6 separate regions of the Homo sapiens genome follow, and regions 2, 3, 4, 5 and 6 are each linked to region 1. Evidence: promoter capture Hi-C in 16 types of primary human blood cells and fetal thymus (Javierre and others, 2016). All regions are on one chromosome and are shown on one strand. Each heading gives the region's core, a stretch centred on a gene start or on the middle of the fragment in contact. The rest is flanking DNA. Distances are from core to core; before and after follow the strand shown. Region 1 holds the start of PWWP2B (PWWP domain containing 2B). Region 2 overlaps INPP5A (inositol polyphosphate-5-phosphatase A). Region 3 overlaps JAKMIP3 (Janus kinase and microtubule interacting protein 3). Region 4 overlaps DPYSL4 (dihydropyrimidinase like 4). Region 5 overlaps INPP5A (inositol polyphosphate-5-phosphatase A). Region 6 holds the start of INPP5A (inositol polyphosphate-5-phosphatase A).

Region 1 (3,466 bases), core at 967-3,466:
GTGGGCAGGGCAGAGGGAAGGCGGGCAGGGCAGAGGGGCAGGAGGTACCATGGGCCAGCCGTGCTTCTCACTGCCCTCTTCCCCTCTCCAGCCAGAGCTGCCAGCTGCTGGGTGCATCTGTCTGGCCCTCTGTGCCCCGGAACCCTCTTCCCCTGTCCTGCCCGCCGCCACCCAGCCTTGGTTCCTCTCAAAGCCCAGCAAGTCCACAGGTGGGTCCCTCAGCACACCCCAAACTGTTCCTCCTGCTGGCGTGGGAAGTCACCAGGAGCCCCAGGCGCACGCAGACACCTTGCAGAGGATCCTGCCCACCCCCACCCCCACCTCGGAAGCCCTTGCTTTTGCCCACCTGGTGGGGCCCTGGTGAATGCTGGTGCTCCCCTGGACACTCTTTCTGGATCCCTCCACCCACATACAGCCCCCTGTGCATTAGCCCCACCCCATGCTGGCCCCACCAGCCTGAATGCTGATTCACCCTGGCAGTCCCCAATGCTCAGAAAGGGCAGTGCCCAGCAGGCCTCTCCAGCAGGCAGGAAGAAGAGCCAAGCAAGTGGGCAGCCTCAGGATGGCCGCTCAGCCCAACCTGGAGCAGGGTGGCGAGGGGGTCCCTGCTGCCTGGCATTTTTCCTCCAAAGTCAGCCCCACCCCTGGAGGGGGCAGCTGCAGAGGCCTGTGGGCAGGACAGCAGGCAGGCTCCACTGCAAGCCTGGCAACCAGTGGGCAGGGGCTGGCTGACCCTGGAGAACGGGGCGCCTTGAGGTGCCTGAGGCCCCAGGAAGGGCTTAGTGTTGGCGGGAGCCCCAGGCCACACAGAGGAGGACAGACACTCACTGGGCTTCCAGGCCTCCTCTGGGACTGTCCCCGGCCAGAACTCTGGCTCATTCGGCCTCGGTCCCTACCCCTGTTCTAGCCGGACGGTCAGGTGTCCCAGGCCCCGCGGGCTCCCTCACTCCGCCCTGGCTCCTCTCTGAGGCTCCCACTGCCGCGCGGCCGCCGGAGGGCGAGGTCGACAGGCGCCAGCGACCCGACGGTCCCCAGTGGCACCAGGGGCGGTGGTCCTCAATTCCCAGGCTGGGAGGAGCCCTGCCCGGCGGCGCTGGGTCGCCAGGACAACTACGCGGTCCCCCGCCCCGCCTCCAGGCCTCGTCAGGCGCTGCAAGTCCGGCTCAGAAGCCCGGCCCGGGGCCAAGGTCACCGCAGCAGGCCGGGCCCCTGCGTTCTGAGCCGGGTGCGGACGTGCTGGTGCTCGGGGAAGTCGGGGGCTTTGACGCCTGAAGGCGCGGGAGCCGGGCGCCTGGGGGAAGGGGGTCCGGCGCCGTCACCTCCCACTCCTCGCCCGCGGGTCGGGGAGCCCCTGCCGCGGGGGAAGGAGGCTGTTTCCTTTGTAAACTGGCGGAGGCGCGCCTGGCCCCTGGGCCCGGCAACCCGAAGAGACACGCCCGAGACCTCCGGAGGGAGTTAACCCCCCGGGCCCCGGTGCCGGCCACCCCCAGGCGCGCAGGGTGGCCCTGAGCCGGGCGCGCGCCCGCTTGTCGCCCCGAGAGGCGCCGAGCCCAGTGGGGCGACCCAGTGTCCCGCCCCCCACGCGGCGAGGGCGACACTAGGCCGCTGCCCCCGGGCGCCCCGCGTCCCCTCCGCCTGCCCCGGCTTCCTGCGCGCGCCGCCCGGGACTTCCTCGCCGCAGTGCCCGGGGCCACCAGAGCCCAGCGCGGGGCGCTGCCGGGACACGCGGGCGGCCGACCCCAGGCGGGAGGATCCGGGCCACCGGGGAGGGAGGGAGGGCGCAGGGCTGGGCCCGGAGGGGGAGGGGGGCCCGGGACCGGCCCCAGGCAGGGGAGCGGGGGGATGGGGTCCCGGGGCTCCGGCCGCGGCGGGTGTCCCCCCCGCCGCCCCCGGGCTCGTGGCTCTCGGGTCCTCCCGAGCCAGGGGACACTCCCGGCCAGCGTGGGCCGCGAGCCCGGGCGCAGCCCCCTCTCCAGCCCGGGGGTCCGCACCGCGCGTCCGGCCGACCTCTGCGGGCGGGCGCGGCTTCTCCCGGGACGCGGCGGCGGCGGGCGGGGTCCCCGGGAGCGGAGCCCGCGGCCGCGCGCCCCCGGCCCGGCTCGGCTCGGCTGTGGCGGCCGCCCCAGCGGAGCTTTGTGACGTCAGGCGGCCGCGGGGCGGCGTCACGCGCGGGGCTGACCCGGCGGCGGCGGCGGCGGCGGCGGCGGCGGCGGGGCGGGGGCGGCCTGGGACGCGGCGGGAGCATGGAGCCGCGCGCCGGCTGCCGGCTGCCGGTGCGGGTGGAGCAGGTCGTCAACGGCGCGCTGGTGGTCACGGTGAGCTGCGGCGAGCGGAGCTTCGCGGGGATCCTGCTGGACTGCACGAAAAAGTGAGCGGGGGCGCGGGCCGGGACACCCCCGGGGTCCCCACGCGACACCCGCCTCCGCCGCCCGGAGACCCGGGACCCGCCTCCGGGTTGGGGGTGGCGTGGCCCCGGCGCCCGCTTTCGGTTTCTGCCGAGCCTGAGTTTCGGGGCGCGCGAGCGCGGCCGCCACTCGGGGGGGCAAAAGTGGTTCTCAAAGTCGTCGCGACTTTTCGGGGCGGGCGCCGGGCCGGGGCGGGCCGGGGCGGGGGGCGCGGGGCCGGGGTCCCGGAACTCCACACATCTGCCATAATTAATGCACTTTTCTTTGTTCAGAGCCACTGTTGAATTCGACTGTTGGCAGAATTGTCGTTAAAGCAGGGGAGGGTCAGATGCGCCGTGGCCTTGCCCTGGCAGTTCCTCACAGGTGGGGGTGCCCTGTCGAAGGCCACGGGCCCCTGGCTGCTGGGAGTGACTCCGCGGCTGAGGTTTGGATTCGGGGAGAGCAGTTGCGCCCAGCTGTGCGATTTAAGAACAGTTTCAGGCCAGGGAGCCCTGAGTCATGGGGGCGTGAAGAGGTACAAGCTGTGGGAGCCGTGGGCACATCCCCCGGGAGCCCTGGCTTCCTGGGTGGGGGGCGCAGGGCAGGGCGGGGCGGTTCCTCCTGAGAGGCACCTGTGCACGGGCTGCAGGGACCCATGCGGTGCAGATGAGCCTCCTGGACACCGCGTCACATGGCAGGGAGCTGTCGCTGCCAGATCAATGATTAGGCATGAATCAGGCTGTGGCCTCGCTGCGCTCCTGCAGGGCTTTCTTTTGAAACTGGGAGCAGGGAAAGGCTCCTCTTGTAAAGGCCCAACTTTTTCCATCCGTGGAGCCCAGATTTTTGCCTGGTGACATGAATTAGCAGAGAGGACCGTGTTCCTTCCACAATTATTTCGCAGACGTTATCTCTTCATTAGATGTGCCAGAAGCCATTTATCCACAAGTCACGTGATTTAACATATGGCTCCCGTGTGGTTCCTGCCCGCTCCGTGTGGGCTACCGCTGGGAGTGCACGGGCAGGATGGAGGGACACTCGGGGGGTGAGAATCGCCACCTGGGAGCTGCCATCCCCTCCACCAT
Region 2 (3,533 bases), core at 583-3,082, 200 kb after region 1:
GTTTTGTTTTTTTTTTTTGAGATGGAGTCTCGCACTGTCACCCAGCTGGAGTGCAGTGGCACCATCTCAGCTCACTGCAACCTCCACCTCCCAGGTTCAAGCGATTCCCCTGCCTCAGCCTCCTGAGTAGCTGGGATTACAGGCACCCACCACCATGCCCGGCTAATTTTTTTGTATTTTTAGTAGAGACAGGGTTTCACTATGTTGGCCAGGCTGTTCTTGAGAATTCCTGACCTCGTGATCCACCCTCCTTGGCCTCCCAAAGTGCTGGGATTACAGGCGTGAGCCACCACGCCCGGCCCATGTGTGTGTGCATGTTTGTGTACGTGTGTATGCATGCATGTGTGTTTGTGTGCAGGCTCCTGTACATGTGCGCGTTTGTGTGTGTCCATGTGTTTGCTTGTGTGCGTGTGTGCATGCGTGTGTGTGCATGTGTGTGCATGTGTGTGCATGCACGTGTGTTTGGAGGCTCCTGTGCATGTGTGCATGTGTGCGCGCATGTGCACGCATGTGTGCGTGTGTGCACACATGTGTGCGTGTGTGCATGCGTGTGTGCATGCACGTGTGTTTGTGTGCACGCTCCTGTACGTGTGTGCATGTGTGCATGTGTATGCATGCATGTGTGTGTGCAGGCTCCTGTACGTGTGTGCGTGTGTGTATGTGTGCATGTGTTTGCATGTGTGTGCATGGGTATGTGCACGTGTGCATGTGTGCATGCATGTGTGTGAGTGTGTGTGCGCATGTGTGCGTATGCACATGCACTTGTGTTTTCATGGCCGAGGGTTTATTTTCTAGTAATTTGAAGCCCTAAGTGACAGAACCTTTTCTGTTCTTCTCAGTGTTTGTGCTACTGTCCTCTCCCTCTTCTCTCAGTCTCAGAAGATGTGTCAGGGTGTCTGGATGTGGTCTGTCAGCTCATCCACAAGGACTCGGGCCATCTCCCCTGTTCCTGCAGGTGGTGGGAAGTTTCTATATCCACATTTTCTTCATTGAGGATATTGTGGTTTGTTGTGAAAGTGCTTACATTCAGTGGGATAAAATTTGAGTCACATATTAGGATATTATATTGTTATTTCAGTTGTGAATTTTAAGAAATTATATAATTTCTTACACATCTTCAGGAATGCATTAGGCAAGTTAAACAATAGTGTTACATGTTGGGGATATGTTTATATGCAGAGCGGTTGTAAAAACTGTATTAACATCTGTGTGCATTGCACGTGTCTGCTTGTTCCTCTGTTTCCAGTGTTTTGTCCTTTAGTGTGTGCTGCAGCGCTGTGCTACGTGTAGTGACCCTGGGCCTGTGGTGCGTCCTGCGGGGCTGTGCTACGTGTAGTGACCCTGGGCCTGTGGTGCGTGTTCCGGGGCTGTGCTACGCGTAGTGACCCTGGGCCTGTGGTGCGTGTTCCGGGGCTGTGCTATGCGCAGTGACTCTGGGTCTGTGGTGCGTGTTCCGGGGCTGTGCTATGCGTAGTGACTCTGGGCCTGTGGTGCGTCCTGCGGGGCTGTGCTACGCGTAGTGACCCTGGGCCTGTGGTGCGTGTTCCCGGGCTGTGCTACACATAGTGACTCTGGGCCTTTTGGGCAGGTCTCAGATTTACTGTCTGTTTTAATTTCAATTGCAGTTTTTGTTTGATTTCGCTTGGGCGTCTGGGACCTACCCTTCCTACTGCTAGGGTCAGAACTTTCTCTTTTTTTCATTTTATATGAGGTGAGTAAAGTGCAGCTCTCAGACGTGTGGAGACTCAGTGTGTGGCTCGGCTGCTTGAGTGGCGCTGTGGCGATGGAGATTACCTCCACCTTTTTAATGCGGTAAAATGGGTATAAAATTTTCCATCTTAACCATGTTTAAGGGTGCAATTCAGTGGCATGAAATGCATTCATAATGTTGCATAACCATCACTGTCATCCATCTCCAGATCTCTTTTAATCTTGTAAAACTGCAGCTCTGTCCTCGTTAAACACTGAGTCCCTGTCTGCCCCCAGTTCCTTTGTCACCAACATTTTACTTTCTGTCTCCATGAATCTGATGACTCCAGATATCTCACATGAGTGCGATCATACATTCTTTGTCTTTTTGTGTTTGGCTTATTTTCCTTAGCATAATGTTCTCAAGGTTGTTGCATAGTCAGAATACCCTTCCTTTTTAAGGCTGAGTTATGTGGATAGACCACAATTGTATCCATTTGTCCGTGGATGGACACTTGGGTTTCTTCCAGCTTCTGGCTGATTGTGGGTGTACCGATATCTGTTTAAGTTCCTGCTTTCAGTTCTTTTGGGAATTGTATTAGTTCATTTTCATGCTGCTGATAAAGACGTACCTGAGACTGGGAAGAAAAAGAGGCTTAATTGGACTTATAGTTCCGCATGGCTGGAGAGGCCTCAGAATCATGGCAGGAGGTGAAAGACACTTCTTAAATGGCTGCAGCAAGAGAAAATGAGAGAGAAGTAAAAGCGGAAACCTCTGATAAGCCCATCAGATCTCTTGAGACTTATTCAGTATCATGGGAATAGCACAGCAAAGACCAACCCCCATGATTCAATTACCTCCCCCTGGGTTCTTCCCATAACAGGTGGGAATTCTGGGAGATACAATTCAAGTGAGATTTGGGTGGGGACACAGCCAAACCATATCATTCCATCCCTGGCCCCTCCAAACCTCATGTCCTCACATTTCAAAACCAGTTATGCCTTCCCAACAGTCTCCCAAAGTCTTAACTCATTGCAGCATTAACCCAAAAGTCCACAGTCCAGTCTTATCTGAGACAAGGCAAGTCCCTTTCATGTATGAGCCTGTAAAATCAAAAGCAAGCTAGTTACTTCCTGGATACAATGGAGGTACAGGTATTGGGTAAATACAGCCGTTCCAAATGGGAGAAATTGGCCAAAACAAAGGGGTTACAGGGCCGATGCAAGTCCGAAATCCAGCGGGGCAGTCAAATTTTAAAGCTCCAAAATGATCTCCTTTGACTCCTGGTCTCACATCTAGGTCACACTGTTGCAAGAGGTGTGCTCCCACGATCTTGGGCAGCTCCGCCCCTGCGGTTCTGCATGGTACAGCCTCCCTCTCGGCTGCTTTCATGGGCTGGCATTGAGTGTCTGCGGCTTTTCCAGGCACACAGTGCAAGCTGTTGGTGAATCTGCCATTCTGAGGACTGGAGGATGGTGGCCCTCTTCTCACAGCTACACTAGGCATTGCCCCAATAGAGACTCTGTGTGGGGGCTCTGACCCCACATTACCCTTCTGCACTGCCCTAGCAGAGATTCTCCATGAGGGCCCCACCCCTGCAGCAAACTTTTGCCTGGACATCGAGGCATTTTCATACATCTTCTGAAATCTGGGTGGAGGTTCCCAAACCTCAGTTCTTGTCTTCTGTGCACCTGAAGGCTCAACACCACTGGCAGCTGCCAAGTCTTGGGGCTTCCACCCTCTGAAGCCACAGCCCGAGCTGTATGTTGGCCCCTTTTAGCCACGGCTGGAGTGGCTGGGATGCAGGTCACCAAGACCCTAGGCTGCACACATCATGGGGACC
Region 3 (3,393 bases), core at 12-2,511, 220 kb before region 1:
GCTGTTTCCTGATCCATATGTACGACTACGTCTGCACGTGGTACCCATGGTGGTATTGATGAGGGTTCTGCCCTGCAGCTTTTAGCGAGGTTCTGGTGCCTTCGTGCCCGTGGGGCTGGGGGCCCCGACCTGTGGAAACACCCTGTGTCAGCCCTGGGTGGTGCCCCAGGCATGCTGCCATCTCCTGTCCCTGCTGCCGCCCTTGGCACTGTCCAATGAGCCAAGTTCATGATTGTGGTTGTCAACTTGTTCCTACACTTCATCAGCTATCCTCGTTGCAGCCCAAGATAAAATTACCCAGGCTTTCCCCTCCAGCGTGAAGGGCAGGGGCCCTCAGTGCTCATCCTCCCCCAGCATCATGCACGGTCACGGGGCTGTATTTGTTGACGGGACTTTTGGGCTCCCCGGGCTCTGAGCTGGTTGGGGCTCCACCTGCACTATGCCTGAGCTCCCCACATCCTACCTCTCTCCTGTCACTCGAAGCTCAGCCACCTGAGCAGCACTTTCCTGCCCCCTCCCTGAGAACTGGGAGCTCTTGGGATGAGGATTATCTGGGTTTCTCCCGCGGAACCCTTACTGTGGCACTGATACACTCACATAAACATTTGCCACGTGAATGGCCAAGTACGTAAAAGAATGCGCTCCCTGAAGGCAATTCGCAGCCCCATGTTCCCCCCACCCCCCACACTTCCAGGCAACAGTGAAAGCAGATGTTCTGGGGGTCCCCGAGACCACCTGCATCTCTGGGGACTCGCTAGGATTCACAGGACTCAGCACACAGTCACACCACAGCAGGGCCACACCACGGCAGGGTCGCACCACAGCAGGGTCACGCCACGGCAGGGTCACACCACAACAGCCACACCATGGCACAGCCACACCATTATCGCAGCCCTATAATCGGGAGGCATGGCTGGATCTGCAAGGGAAGAGTTCACAGGCACAGCCTGGAGAGGCCTGTGAGCAGACTTCCTGTGCTCTCTCCCCTCCCATGCTCTTCCCCCTGTGAGGTGCACACGGGGCACACACTCCCTCCAGCAGCAAAACACAGCCCCATATATGCAGTGTTTCTGCTCGGGAAATTCCAGCTAAGACCCAAAATTCATGGTTTTGATTTGGGGGCTACTCAGTTGTGCGCCCCCCACCCACTAACATGCCAGGCCCTCAAAAGGAAGGCTGGTGTTTGCCATGAATCACATTGTTTGCACAGTCTAGGCAGGAACCTCCTCACTAAAGGAATGCTTCGAAGCCAAGTTCCCAGACGCCAGCCAATGGCCACCGTTGCAAGCAGGCACTTCTGCAGCTAGCAGCCTCAGGCCTGTCCACAGAGACACTCTTGAGTGAGGACCCTGGGGTGCCAGAGCTTGCTTGGGGGCATTGAGGAGCCCCATGGAGCCACAGAGACCAAGGCCAGACCCATGGATGGCTGCCTCCCACCTGTCCTGTGCCTGACATGGCTCCAGTTTGGATGAGGTCCTCAGCTGACTGTGAGGGACAGTGCCCAGAAAGGGGAGGGTGGGTGGGAGGGAGAAGATCACGTTCCCTAGAAGAGACGGAACAGATGGGGTAGGGCGGGAGGGATTTGGGAAGACTGCAAACCTGGAAGCAGAACTGTGTGTGTGTGTGTGTGTGTGCGTGCGTGCATGCGTGTGTGTGCGTGTGTGTGTGCGTGCGCGTGTGTGTGTGCGTGCGCGTGTGTGTGTGCGTGTGTGTGCGTGTGTGCGTGCGTGTGTGCGTGTGCGTGTGCGTGTGTGCGTGTGTGTGCGCGCGCGTGTGTGTGCGTGCGTGTGTGTGTGCGCGTGTGTGTGCGTGTGTGTGCGTGTGTGCGTGCGTGCGCGCGCGTGTGTGCGTGTGTGTGCGTGTGTGTGTGTGCGCGTATGCATGTGCTGTGAGTGGTGTGTTGTGTATGCATGTGTGTATATATCGTGTGCATGTGTGTGCTGTGTGTGAGTGGTGTCTTTGGGCATGTGCATGTATGTGTATGTGTTGTGCATTGCATGTGCCTGTATGTGTATTTTGCATTGTGTGTACACATGTACAGTGCATTTGTGCGTATTGTGTGGGCATGTGTGTGTAGTGTATTGTGTGTACATGCATGTGCAGTGTGTATGTGCTGTTTGCACATGTGCAGGTATGTGTATTGTGCATTGTGTGTACGTGCACATGTAGTGTGTGTGTGTGAGTGGTATGTTGCGGCCATGGATGGGGCAGAAAGTCTCCTGTTCTGGAAATAGGGCAGTGAGTGGAGTGTGCTGACAATGGAGAGCAGCAGCTGGCTCTGGAGAGGGATCAAGTGACCACAGGAAACCAAATGCTCTGGTCTTGTTCCTTTAATTTGGGGAGTGAGTTTTTAAAATTCAGCATCATATTTTCAACAAGACCTCTGTTCTCTATTTGCATGTGCCTAGTTCATACTCCAGGCAGTTGATCACATAATTCAGAGAGGCATTGACAGGGTGGGAGTGTTTCTGGGTAGGTGTCCAGATCCCCGGCCCTTCTCAGCCTGGAAGTGTCACCGAGGGAAATCCCTGTTTTACATGGGGCTTCACCTTTTCCCTCTGTAAAATATGAGGGCTGGACTGGCAGGTCCCCTTCCTCCTGTACCTTCTAGAGATCGATGGTTCCGGGACAACCTATTTAGAAACGAACCCGATTAAAGGCACAAAGAACAAGGTACTATGTTAACTGCAGCAGAGATTTCAACTGTAACGCTTAATACGGGAAGAAGTAAACATGTATGTGTCATTTGACTACATTTATTTTTCATTCTGTTTGAGGTAATATCTTCTTACTTAGAAGTTAGGTTAAATCAAAAACCAAAAAGCTCTTCAGACCTCTCCTAGATTAGAAAACCGTGGTGTCTCTACGGCCGGGCCCTCTGCCTCTGTCCCAGCGTGCCCTCACTCCCGCCCCTCTGCCTCTGTCCCAGCGTGCCCTCGCTCCCGCCCCTCAGCCCACGTGGCCTCCCACCCGATGCTGCCATGCCCCAGGGACTGATCCGGGGCCCGCCCTTGTGAAAAGCAGATCCTTCATAACTTCTTCAAAAACATGAAAAAATGGAAAGGTAATAAAAACTTTGAACTTAGCAGAGGCCCACTTTCTAAGCAATGAGGGAAGTTGGGTAGAAACCGGGCTGCTGGCCCAGACATGGTGAGAAAGATCCAAGGTCACTTCTGTAGGGGCTTTGTGAGGAGCATGGACTCATCTTCCTGAGAGTGTGGCCTTCGGTGGGTGCCAGGTGCGTCTCCCGGGCTGGAGGCTCAGGACGTGGCGCTGTAGCTGGTGCTGGACCCATGAGGGCAGTGCCTGCCATTGGCTCAGTGACCATCCTGTGCAGAGCCAGTGCCTGGTCAAGGCCCCAACTGCCTTGAGTGCTGACCTGTGGTGGGTCAC
Region 4 (3,447 bases), core at 420-2,919, 200 kb before region 1:
CGGTCATCACATAGGTGCCCCTTGATGTCAGGACCCCTCACCTCCCTGCCCGGGGGCTGGTGGAGCCCGTCAATCCTCAGTCCCTGGGCCTCACTCCAGGCAGCTGCTCTGCCACCCATGCTGTTCTGTGAGTGGACTCGGGAGGCCTGTGGCCTCGTGTCTCAGAGCGGAGGTGGAAGCAGGGCCTGCACCTCCCCTCACCCTGTGTTGGCAGTGCTGGGGCCTCTGCTCCCCAAGAGCCATGCAGGAGTCCTCAGTCCTGTGCCCACGGGGTAGTGTTGCAGGGACAGCACTGCGCAACCCAAACATGACCTTCCTCAGACACTCGGGGGCAGGCCTCAAACTCCAGGTCACATACAGGTTGCTACCTGGAGGGATGGCTTGTGGGGCACAGTGTGACTCAGTTTCCCCAGTGTGCCTTAGCTTGTCACACTAGCACTTTCCACCCAGCGAGGAGGAGATGCCATGGGTTGGGTGGGCTTGAGTGATGGGAGGTTGGGATCCTGCCTCCAGGCCCAGGCCGGTCCCCACACAAGTTCCGAGTCCTGGGGGAGGTGGATGGGCTGTGGCTGCCCAGGAAACAGGAGAGCTCAGCCCTCTTCCTGTTTGGGCCCCAACGTCAGAGGCAGCCCCTCATCCTTCTGCTCGTCCTAAGGGCCCAGCCCTGAGATCTGGGTGGTCCCACAAGCCTGCACTGTGAGCCAGGCATGGCAAGTGGGGCTCCAAGGCCCTGCAGGCAGGTGCTGGATGTGCTGGACGGCCAGAATGCAGGTCCCCAGCACAGCGCGGCCCTGGCCGCACTTCCAGGAGGGAGCCAGTGGAACCCAGGCCGAGAGCCCAGGCACAGCGGCTCTTCCAGTAACGGGGGGTCTGCTGGATGGGTGTGAGGGGTTCTCACCTGCATTTGCCGCTGGGTGGACAATCAGTTCCTAACCCGGAGCACAGGAGCAGGCAAGGAGGGCCTGGATGTAGCTGCCTCCGCCTCACTTCCCAGCTTGCTGGTGTGTGCATGGAAGCGGGGGACTGCTCCCAGGGCTGGCAAGCCAGTGAGGGAAGCACTGCGGGGGAGGGGCCCAAGACCCCCAACCCTCCAGTGGGCAGGAGCAGCAGAGGCTCCGTAGGTTGTCTGACTGGTGATGGCTGAGCCTCTGACCCCTGCCTCTTCTCCAGGTGTGAACTCCTTCCTGGTCTTCATGGCATACAAGGACCGGTGCCAGTGCAGCGACAGCCAGGTAAGGGCAGGCGTGGGGAACGGAGTGGGCAGGTATATCCCAGGCCGCTGCTGGTGCAGGCGCAGCCCCACCCAGGACGCCACCACTTCTCTTCCCAGATGTACGAGATCTTCAGCATCATCCGGGACCTGGGGGCCTTGGCCCAGGTGCACGCTGAGAACGGGGACATCGTGGAGGAGGTGCCGTGGGGCAGGGCTGCCGTGGGGCAGGCACAGGGGCTGCCGTGGGGCAGGGGCTGCCTGTGGGGTGGGGCAGGGGTCTGAGGGTGACTTTCATGATACGCAGACATCAGCACAGAATCCCACAAAACCTTGAGGGAGGGTCATAGCTTACCCCGAGTCAAAGGTCAACCAGTGAGTTAGAGAGACTGGGGGGTGATGGGGAGCTTTGAGGCCATAAAACAGCTTCTCCTTGATCAACACTTCTTATCCAAAATACCTCAAAAGCAAAGTGTCAGCCCCAGGGATCGAGGCCCCTCCTGTGGAGCGGGGTACCCGCTGGGGGTTGGGTTACCACCTTCCTTCCAGCCAAGGGCACCCATGTTGACAGGGCCACATCCTTCAGACACATCCCACCGGGCTGGGGAGGGCCTGAGCCCGCGTGCAGTGGCGCCGACCCCCCAGGCCCTTGGGGCTGAGGCAACCTTGGCCCTGCACCTTGTTTTCCCCTCTAGCAGAGGCACCCACAGGTACAGATGGAGTTCAGAGAGTGGGCCACCCCATACCCGTGGGACCTCAGTGGGGGTCACCACACAGGACACACCTCCCTGACACTGCAAACCCACAGTGAGACTTCGTGGGACGGGACGGGCTCTGCCCACCTCCTGAGCTCTACAGGAAGGTGGTGGCACTCGGGCAGGGGCATGTGGGGGGTCCCCAGTGTCCTCGTCCACCCGTCCAGCTGTGAGGGCATCGGGGCATCACAAACACTTCTGTGGCCCAAGGCCAGGCCCCGGCTGCACCGTCAGGAGGTTGTCCTGGGTCTAGGGATGCTCCACATACAGCGGGAGGGAGCCTCAGTATTGGGGCTGCTGCTTCTGGCCGGTACCATGTCTTCCCTGACACGAGCGGATGCCGTAGTGCAAATCTGCACGGAAAGGCAGTGCTGGAGGAAGGAGTGGTCGTCCATTCCTGACCTGCAGAGCCCTCCCTGCCTGTGCACACCCCCACACATGCCCCCGCTGGGGGAGGCAGCGTGATGGGCATAGTGGTGGGAGGGTGGGGTCTTGGTGCCATCAGTCAGGAGCCCTGCAGCCTTGGGGGAGCCACTTTCCCCTATCCGAGCTGTCCCCTCCTTGGTAACTCAGGGAGCAGGAATCACACCTCTCCAAGCCCCTCTGCCCTCTATTCTGAGTGTTCTGTGGCTGGGAAATTCTGGGAGGCCTGGGGGTCCAGGACCACTTGGGGAATGGGGCCTCCCAGCCTTGGGCTTAGCATCCAAGGCCCAGGCTCCCTTCAGGGCTTGGAGCGAGGCATCCTGTTGGTTTCTTTAGGAGCAGAAGCGGTTGCTGGAGCTCGGCATCACTGGCCCCGAGGGCCACGTGCTCAGCCACCCCGAGGAGGTAAGATCCCAGGGCACCACAGCACACCCGAGCCAACTCCGCCCAGACCACTGCTGCCTGGGGCTGTGCTGACCCTGGCCCTGGGCTCCTGGCCCTGCCACTGTGCTCGCCCCGACCTCATCTGGGAGGCGTGAATCCTCCCCGTGCCAGGCACTTGTCCTCCATCCCCCCACAACCCTACAGCCTGTACCCGAGGCCCAGAAGGTGGCGTGGGCAGGCCCAGGCACTGAGCCCGAGGCTGGGCCGCTCCTACTAGGCTGCCCTGAGCCTGGGATCCCATGGGTGACACCTGGGCATCCCCATTGCCCACACTGGTCTGGAGCCCCAGGGCCCTCGTGTGGCCTCATCCCTCTCATCTCGTCCCCAGGTGGAGGCTGAGGCGGTGTACCGAGCTGTCACCATCGCCAAGCAGGCAAACTGCCCGCTGTACGTCACCAAGGTGATGAGCAAGGGGGCGGCCGACGCCATCGCTCAGGCCAAGCGCAGAGGTGAGCACCCAGCCCCGCCTCTGATGCCGAGGGGCCATGGTCTCGGCCTCCTGGGTGCAGCCCTGGGGAGATGCAGGTTCCCTGAGTCCCTGCATCGGGGCGGGGCACTGGACCCTGAGTCCCTGCATCGGGGTGGGGCACTGGACCCTGAGTCCCTGCATCGGGG
Region 5 (3,095 bases), core at 479-2,978, 220 kb after region 1:
GGCCCTGGGTCAGTGGAGTGTAGGCACTGGGTTGGTGGAGGAGCTGGTTGGAGACTGAGGGGCTGGGAGGCCCCAGGCTGGGGCAAGGGGGTGTCTGCCGCTCTGGGCGGCTGGGATAAACAAAGCTGTGCAGCTGAGCCTCTCAGCTGAGAGGCTGCGACCTTCATGGCCTGGTGGGCCTGGCACCTGAGGCCCTGGGCCTGGGGAACAGGGGCCTCCCCTCTTAGTGGTGATGGGCTTCACCCTCTGTAGCTGCCGGTTCCGGGTCCTGTGGGGAGCGGTGAGGGATGGTCGTGTGCGTCGTTTTAGGAGCATGTGTGTGAGCGTGAGGATGCCCATGGCCAGTGGACATGCCTTCCTCCTGTCCTTGCAGCCACTGGAGGGGAAGCTTCTTGTCCTTAAGTCAGACCGGGAGGCAGACGGGCCCTGAAAGAACCACAGGGTGGCGTGGGAGGCAGCTGCAGTGGGAGGTGCCTGTGCTTTGTTGGTTGTGAACAAGCATCCAAGGGAGGACCACAGTGGCAGATGTGCAGTGTGGGGCATGTGGCGTGCAGGGACGCCGTGGGCGTGGTGTGGGGCACGTGGCGTGCGGGGACGCCGTGGGCGTGGTGTGAGGTATGTGGCGTGCGGGGACGCCGTGGGCGTGGTGTGGGATATGTGGTATTGGGAACATGGTGGTGACGCAGGATGTGGTGGTGGTGTAGAATGTGGTGCTGATGGATGTGGTGTGTGTGGGATGCTGTGGTCACATGGGACATGGTGTATGGGACGTGGTGGTGACATAGTGTGTGTTGGTGATAGGGGATGGGGTGGTGACATGGGATGTGGTTTTGGGGTTGCAGTGGTGACATGGGACATGGTAGTGACATGGGACATGGTGACAGGGTAGGGTGTGGTGGTGATGGAGGTGGTGTGGTAATGTGGCGTGGAGGATGCAGTGTGGGGGACATGGTGACATGGCGATGTGTCATGTGGTGATGGGGGACGTGGCGTGGGGGATATGGGGTCCTGGATCTCCTGTAGCTCTGGCCAGTGGCGAGTGGCACCATGCAGCAGGGAGGAAGGCCAGCTTCACGCTGCAGGAGCTCCTGGGCAGTCTGTTCTGGGAGTGAGGATGTTTGGGGGTTGTGGAGCCATCGTGCTGGCCAGTTGCTTTGCTGCGCTGGTGGGGAGAGGCCGCCTGAGGTCCTTCGAAGCAGCCTGGGTCTGTCTGCTCCCTGGGGTCAGATGCAGGCCGCTTCTGCAGCTTCGGCATCATGTCCCAGCCCAGCCCCGCAGCCTTCACCTGTAGGAAGATTCTGCAGGCTCTCTCTCCCTCCATCATCTGGTGACTCCTCAAACACCGCGCCCTGGTTGGTGGCTGTATTGATTCTTGGTCTCCCAGTGACGAGCTGAGGTGGGGAGCCACGAAGCCACAGGCTGAGGCAGAGCCAGGACAGACCCTGCTTGGCCCTGGGCTCTGGCTCTTTGCAGGCAGCTCAGCAGACAGTCCCCGCCCTTCAGAGCTCCTGTGCAGTGTGGCTTGGGGCAAAGCCACCCTGTGGCTCTCTCAGGGCCCTTCTGCCTCCTGGTCTGATCTAAGGACAAGAAGCTTTCCCTCCGGTGACTGCAGGGACGAGAGGAAGGGATGTCCACCGGCCGTGGGCATGCTCACACTCACACACGCTCACTGCCTGGGTGAGAGGCGGTGGAGGACCCCTTTCCCAGAGGGAAGGTCTCCTGTGAGCCACACCTGAAGGGTGTGGAGGAGCGGCTGTTACCTGCTCGTGTGGCCAGTGCAGATCTTGAATCCTCAGACTGCAGGTGAGGTAGCCAGGACATCCATTGTGACCTTCTTCCTGTTGACAAAGACAGTACATGGAGTGGAAGCTTCTGGCTATCTGTGCATTGCTTCACCGAGCACCTGACTGCGTCTGGCACGTGGCGTGTGTGGAGCAACTGCCTGCCACACAGAAGTCTGAGGATACTGATCAAAGCAGAAAAGGATAAACATTCTTTCCTTCCCCAGTTTTGCCTCCAGCATGATGCACACCCCATCATATGTGTTTGCCTGCGTGGCTGTGGGCAGGTGTGCAGTCCACAAGTGGGTCATCCACAAGTGGGCAGCAGACACATGTGCGTACAGCTTACTCTCTCTGCCTTTTTTGTAAGCTGGGAAATCTTTCTATGTGAATTAATATATGCTGTCTATCTTAATAGCTTCAGAATATTTTATGATATAGTTAGGCCTTAATTTTTTAAAGTTGTTTTTCTGTTGGACCTTGAGGTAGTTTAAAGTTTGCTTGTGGGAATGAGGATAAATTTTAAAACAGGATATAATGTTGTCTGTCATGCAAATATAAAATGAATAGGTACTTATTCACTTTAAATACCTATTTTAAAAATAGAGTTTTAAATTGAGATAATAAATGTTGTTTATTTATCAGGGAGAGACCCAGTAAGATGTAGAACTGGTTCAGGGAAGAATCCAGAATGTAGGCAAATAGCTTCTCCCATCAGCAGTACTGACATGAGTGTGCTTCACGGATGCAAGGCTGGCACTGTCCACAGGGTCATGATCCATCACATCTGCTGGACATTGTGCATTTCTGTGGTCAAGAATCATTTCCATCATCATCAGCTTTTAAACTCACAGAGTTGCAACATAGCTCAGAGACAACTAAAGGTAGAGATAACCCAAATAGGTGAGCTAAATGGAGGCACTCTCATTATTGCTCATTTTAAAGTCTTTCACAGTTTTTCCTGATGGTAATTTTAAGAATGATGTGATAGGCAGTGTCTGTTTCCAGCTAACATGGAAGAAGAGTGTATTAGGCCATTCTTGCTTTGCTGTAAAGAAATACCCGAGACTGGGTAATTTATGAGGGAAAGAGGTTTAATTCGCTCACGGTTCGCAGGATGTGCAGGAAGCTTAGTGCTGGCACCTGCTCAGCCCTTGGAGGCCTCATGGAATTTTCAGTCAGGCAGAAGGCAAAGGGGGAGTAGCCATGCCACACAGTGAAAGCCAGAGCAAGAGAGAGCGAGTGGGGATGAAGTGCACACACCTTCAAATGACCAGACCTCATGTGAACTCAAGAGTAAGAACTCACTTATCA
Region 6 (3,552 bases), core at 175-2,674, 140 kb after region 1:
GGCAGCAGGTGTCTTCCTAGAACAGAACAAGCCCCTTTTGATGTCATTGGGCATTGCCTTGGCGGTTTACTCAGAAGCTGGAGGCTAGCCTCGCTAGAGCCCATTGCCAGGCCCTGACCGCCCCTAAATCTGTGTCCACAAAATCCTCCGGAGTGCCTGCTCCGCATGGTGGCCACTGGCCACACAGGGCTGCTGAGCACTGGAAGCGGCCTTGTGAGCTGCTGCCAAGAGGCAGGTGCCCGTGCAAAGCCTTCCTGTGAAGGAATCTCACTGAGGTTGTTAAATTCTGGTTACATGTTGAATGATGTATCTATCTATTGGGTTAAGTAAAACGTATTGTTAACTTTGGCTATTACTTGTTACCTTTAAAAAATGTAGCTACTGGAAGCTTTAAGATGACAAATGTGGTTCTCCTCCTCCATCTACAGGCATGTCCCGGTTCACGGCGGCTGTGTCCCCGCGGCCTCAGACCCAGGGTCCAGCCCATGCTCTGGCCCCTCCGGCGGCCAGGATCAGCATCGCTGCCCCGGGGCCCGCGCCGAGCCGGCTGCTCCTCCGTGCTCTGCGCTCCTGGGCCCGCACCAGCCCCCTCCCCTGGAGCCCCCTTCGTCCCTGCGAGGGTTCCCTGCACGCCCCGCGCTGAGACCCAGCCTGGCCCGGGCCGGAGCCCTCCGCGACGTCAGGATGCGCCTGGCCTCACGCCGCCTCCCCTCCGTCTTCTCTGGGCCGCAGCCGCTCCTCGTGAGTGAGGTCGCGGCCAGGGAGCCGGGTGGACGCGCCGGGAAGCTGCACGGTCCACGCTCCGTCTGCGCGGAGAGCCGGGCGCGCGTGGCCCGGCCCCTGCAGGCGCGACTGCCGCCGCCCCGGTGGGCTCCCCTCCCCCGCACGCCCGGCACGCGGCTGGACGACTGCGGCCGCGCGGGGGCTGGAACATCCCCTCAGAGCCGCAAGAGAGCGCACCCGCCGCCGGCGCCCGGAACCCAGGGCCCCTTTAAGAGGCGCCGCCGGAGCAGGGCCGTGACGTCATAGAAGTGCGAAGGGCGGAGTCTGTGCGCAGCCGCGGCGCGGGGGGCGGGGCGGGGGCGCGGCGTTCTTGCGGGCCTGACTGACAGGAGCGCCCTCCGGGAGCGACCAGTACTAGGCCGCCGGTCGCAAGAGCGCCCCGCGTAGGCCCCGCCCCGAAAGGAGGCCCCGCCCCGGGGCAGGCCCCGCCTCCACAAGGACACCAAGTCCCGCACAAGCCACGCCCCCCGCAGGCCCCGCCCCACTCTGTTCAGATCTAGGCCCAACTCAGGCTCCGCACCTCAAGGCTCCGCCCCCAGCAAGGCTCCGCCCCAGGCCCGGCTCCACCCCGCACAGGCCCCACCCCGAGTCAGGCTCCGCCCCGCCCAGGCCCCGCCCCGGGCTCGGCTCCGCGGGGCGGGACTTGCCCTCAGCCTGAGTCGGCGGCGGCTGCGGGAACTTTCCCAGCGGATCTAATGGCTGCGCGCGGGCCGCTGTGAGGCGCGGCGGCGAGCGACGGGCGCGGGGCCGCGGAGCAGCGAGCGAGCGAGCGAGCGCGAGGCCGGAGCCCCGGCCAGGCCCGGCCGACCCGCCGAGCCCGCGATGCGCCCCGGGGCCGCCCCCCGGCGCAGCTGACGCCCCGCGGCCCCGCGAAGACCCCGGCCGGCCGGTCCCGGAGGAAGCGGCCGCCGCCGCCGCCGCCCAGCCCAGCGCCCGCGCCGCCCGGGCACCATGGCGGGGAAGGCGGCCGCCCCGGGCACCGCGGTGCTGCTGGTCACGGCCAACGTGGGCTCGCTCTTCGACGACGTAAGTCCCCCGTGCCGGCGGCAGGCCCCAAGCCCGGAACCCCCGACCCTGACCCCGGGGTCCCGAACTGCAAGCCTTGGACCCTGGACCGTGAACCTCCAGACCCAGAGGCCCCAGACTCTGATCCCTGTACCCGGGACCCCAGACTCCTGTCCTGATTCCCAAGTCTGGGAGCCCAGACCCCTGTCTTGATCCCCAAGCCCGAGACCTGAAGACCTGGGCCCTGAATCCCCGAACCCCATCCTCCAGACTCCAGCAGCTGACCGTTGACCCTGGGACCCTGCCTCTGAACTCCTGTCTGCAAATCCTGACCTCGAAACTCCAATATTAAAACCCTGTCAGAACCCCTGTTAACAGTTCCTGGAACCCAAACCCCAGAAACCGGGTCTGTGCGCACCAAACCCAGCCCCAGCCCTGATTTCCGAATCCTCAGAACCCTGGCCCTGGAATGCCCATCCCCAACCCTGGCCCTGAACCCCAGGTCCATGGTCACTGGAACCACAAATCCTGACTGCAGAACTCTGGTTACAGAACCTGCTCTCAAACGTCTGTCTCTGGTCCCTGAGCCCTGGACCCCAAACCCTGAAACATAACCACAAACCCTAACCCAGGAACTTCTGACACAGGGCTGTGGCCCCAACCTCCTGTCCCTGTTCCCCAATCACTGAATTCTAGCCCTAGAATCCCAGCCTTCATACTGTGGCCCTTTGCCTCTAAAGCCAATCTAGCCTGACTCTGAACCCTGAATTTCAACCTCAGGCCCCAGCTTATGGCCCTGAACACTTGTCCTTGACCCCTGAACCTGGAACCCTGGTTCCAGAATCAGGCCCCAAACCCAATTCTGGACCCTGCCCCTAACTCTGGTTCCTAGATCCCATCCTTGGCCCCTTCCTCCAACAAGCTCCTGCCCCTGAATCCTGAATCCTGAATCCTGGTCTTAAAGCCTGGGCCTTGAGCCTGCAGAATTCCCAAACCCTAACCCTTGACTCCCACCCCTGGCCCCTGTCCTCTGAGCCTAGGCCCTCCACTCTGGCTGTCAGCCCCAGCTCCTGGATGCCTGGGTGCCGGCCTCACTGTCTGTCTGTCCCTGCAGGGCCAGAGGGTAGGGTGCCCCCATTTAACCCTGCCACTTAGTATCTCTTTAGTTCGTAAATAAGGGAAGTCTGTAAAGCACTGTAGGACTTTATATTTCTTGTTTATTGAAGAAAAAGATGCTGAGAAGCTCTTCAGGGCCAGAAAGGGGATGCTGACTGCCTATGGCCTTTACCTTCTAGGGCCCCTCCCACCCAAGCCTCATTCCCACCCAGGATCCCAGGGTGCCCCCATCTCTGGAGAGACCAGGGAGCTGAGGCCCAGGGCGCACTGGGAGCTCCCCAGAGGCAGGCCGGTCTGACCTAGTTTGGCGTTTCAGCCACGGTGCCACCCTGCTGTTGGTACTCCTGCTGCCAACCCAAATAAAGCAGAGTGAGGCTCCAAGTGGCCCAGATGGAGGCCGTGGAGCCACGGACGCTCCCTCCCTCCCTCCCTCCCTCCCTAGGTGAACAGTGGGGCACCGCACCAGCTTTATGACGGATGTGTGCCACTGATGCACGCGTGGTTTCCATTTCAGGAGGAGGTCTTGTGTCTTTGCTGGCAGCAAGCATGGGTGAAGTGTTTGATGAAGCTCAGTTCATGCACAGGCTAGGTTTGGTTTTTATTAACAAAAGGCGCTGTTTTTCTGTTTTTCTTATTTTAACTTCCAGG

What was found. Contacts are between HindIII fragments. The CHiCAGO score rates a contact against its expected background, and 5 or more counts as called.
Region 2: a fragment that was not itself captured here is called in contact with the fragment with the promoter of PWWP2B in region 1 in 1 of 17 cell types (total B cells); the score reaches 8.2 in total B cells.
Region 3: a contact is called between a fragment that was not itself captured here and the fragment with the promoter of PWWP2B in region 1, in 1 of 17 cell types (total CD4 T cells). The highest score is 5.5, in total CD4 T cells.
Region 4: a contact is called between a fragment that was not itself captured here and the fragment with the promoter of PWWP2B in region 1, in 1 of 17 cell types (naive CD4 T cells). The highest score is 5.8, in naive CD4 T cells.
Region 5: a contact is called between a fragment that was not itself captured here and the fragment with the promoter of PWWP2B in region 1, in 1 of 17 cell types (naive CD4 T cells). The highest score is 5.2, in naive CD4 T cells.
Region 6: the fragment with the promoter of INPP5A here is called in contact with the fragment with the promoter of PWWP2B in region 1 in 13 of 17 cell types (naive CD4 T cells, megakaryocytes, total B cells and 10 more); the score reaches 13.8 in naive CD4 T cells.

Annotation. Positions count from the first base shown.
Region 1 is chr10:132,394,984-132,398,449 of GRCh38, forward strand. PWWP2B (PWWP domain containing 2B) reads left to right here and starts at 2,217. Exons shown (of 3, transcript NM_138499.4): 1 at 2,217-2,368. The coding sequence starts at 2,244. It overlaps LOC124902526 (a long non-coding RNA gene), which reads right to left and starts at 1,573. Exons shown (of 2, transcript XR_007062342.1): 1 at 1-1,573. RefSeq lists enhancers at 135-658, 659-1,181, 2,752-3,274, 3,275-3,466 and silencers at 990-1,369, 1,390-1,819, 2,230-2,339, 2,350-2,489. The HindIII fragment of the contact is 15,859 bases long and covers 1-3,466 here.
Region 2 is chr10:132,596,429-132,599,961 of GRCh38, forward strand. All of the region lies in intron 1 of INPP5A (inositol polyphosphate-5-phosphatase A), which reads left to right. Among named protein-coding and RNA genes, the nearest start is that of INPP5A, 60 kb to the left of the region's middle. The HindIII fragment of the contact is 3,852 bases long and covers 1-3,533 here.
Region 3 is chr10:132,178,912-132,182,304 of GRCh38, forward strand. All of the region lies in intron 23 of JAKMIP3 (Janus kinase and microtubule interacting protein 3), which reads left to right. JAKMIP3-AS1 (JAKMIP3 antisense RNA 1) reads right to left here. Exons shown (of 4, transcript NR_184044.1): 3 at 2,550-2,633; 4 at 1-129. Among named protein-coding and RNA genes, the nearest start is that of JAKMIP3-AS1, 6.1 kb to the right of the region's middle. The HindIII fragment of the contact is 8,704 bases long and covers 1-3,393 here.
Region 4 is chr10:132,195,691-132,199,137 of GRCh38, forward strand. It overlaps DPYSL4 (dihydropyrimidinase like 4), which reads left to right. Exons shown (of 14, transcript NM_006426.3): 5 at 1,171-1,232; 6 at 1,331-1,411; 7 at 2,725-2,793; 8 at 3,161-3,281. Among named protein-coding and RNA genes, the nearest start is that of DPYSL4, 10 kb to the left of the region's middle. The HindIII fragment of the contact is 8,271 bases long and covers 1-3,447 here.
Region 5 is chr10:132,615,776-132,618,870 of GRCh38, forward strand. The region is part of intron 2 of INPP5A (inositol polyphosphate-5-phosphatase A); the gene reads left to right. Among named protein-coding and RNA genes, the nearest start is that of INPP5A, 80 kb to the left of the region's middle. The HindIII fragment of the contact is 278 bases long and covers 1,590-1,867 here.
Region 6 is chr10:132,536,363-132,539,914 of GRCh38, forward strand. It overlaps INPP5A (inositol polyphosphate-5-phosphatase A), which reads left to right and starts at 1,425. Exons shown (of 16, transcript NM_005539.5): 1 at 1,425-1,809. The coding sequence starts at 1,735. It overlaps LOC107984282 (a long non-coding RNA gene), which reads right to left and starts at 561. Exons shown (of 4, transcript NR_158224.1): 1 at 364-561. RefSeq lists a silencer at 446-1,545 and an enhancer at 2,326-2,375. The HindIII fragment of the contact is 3,408 bases long and covers 387-3,552 here.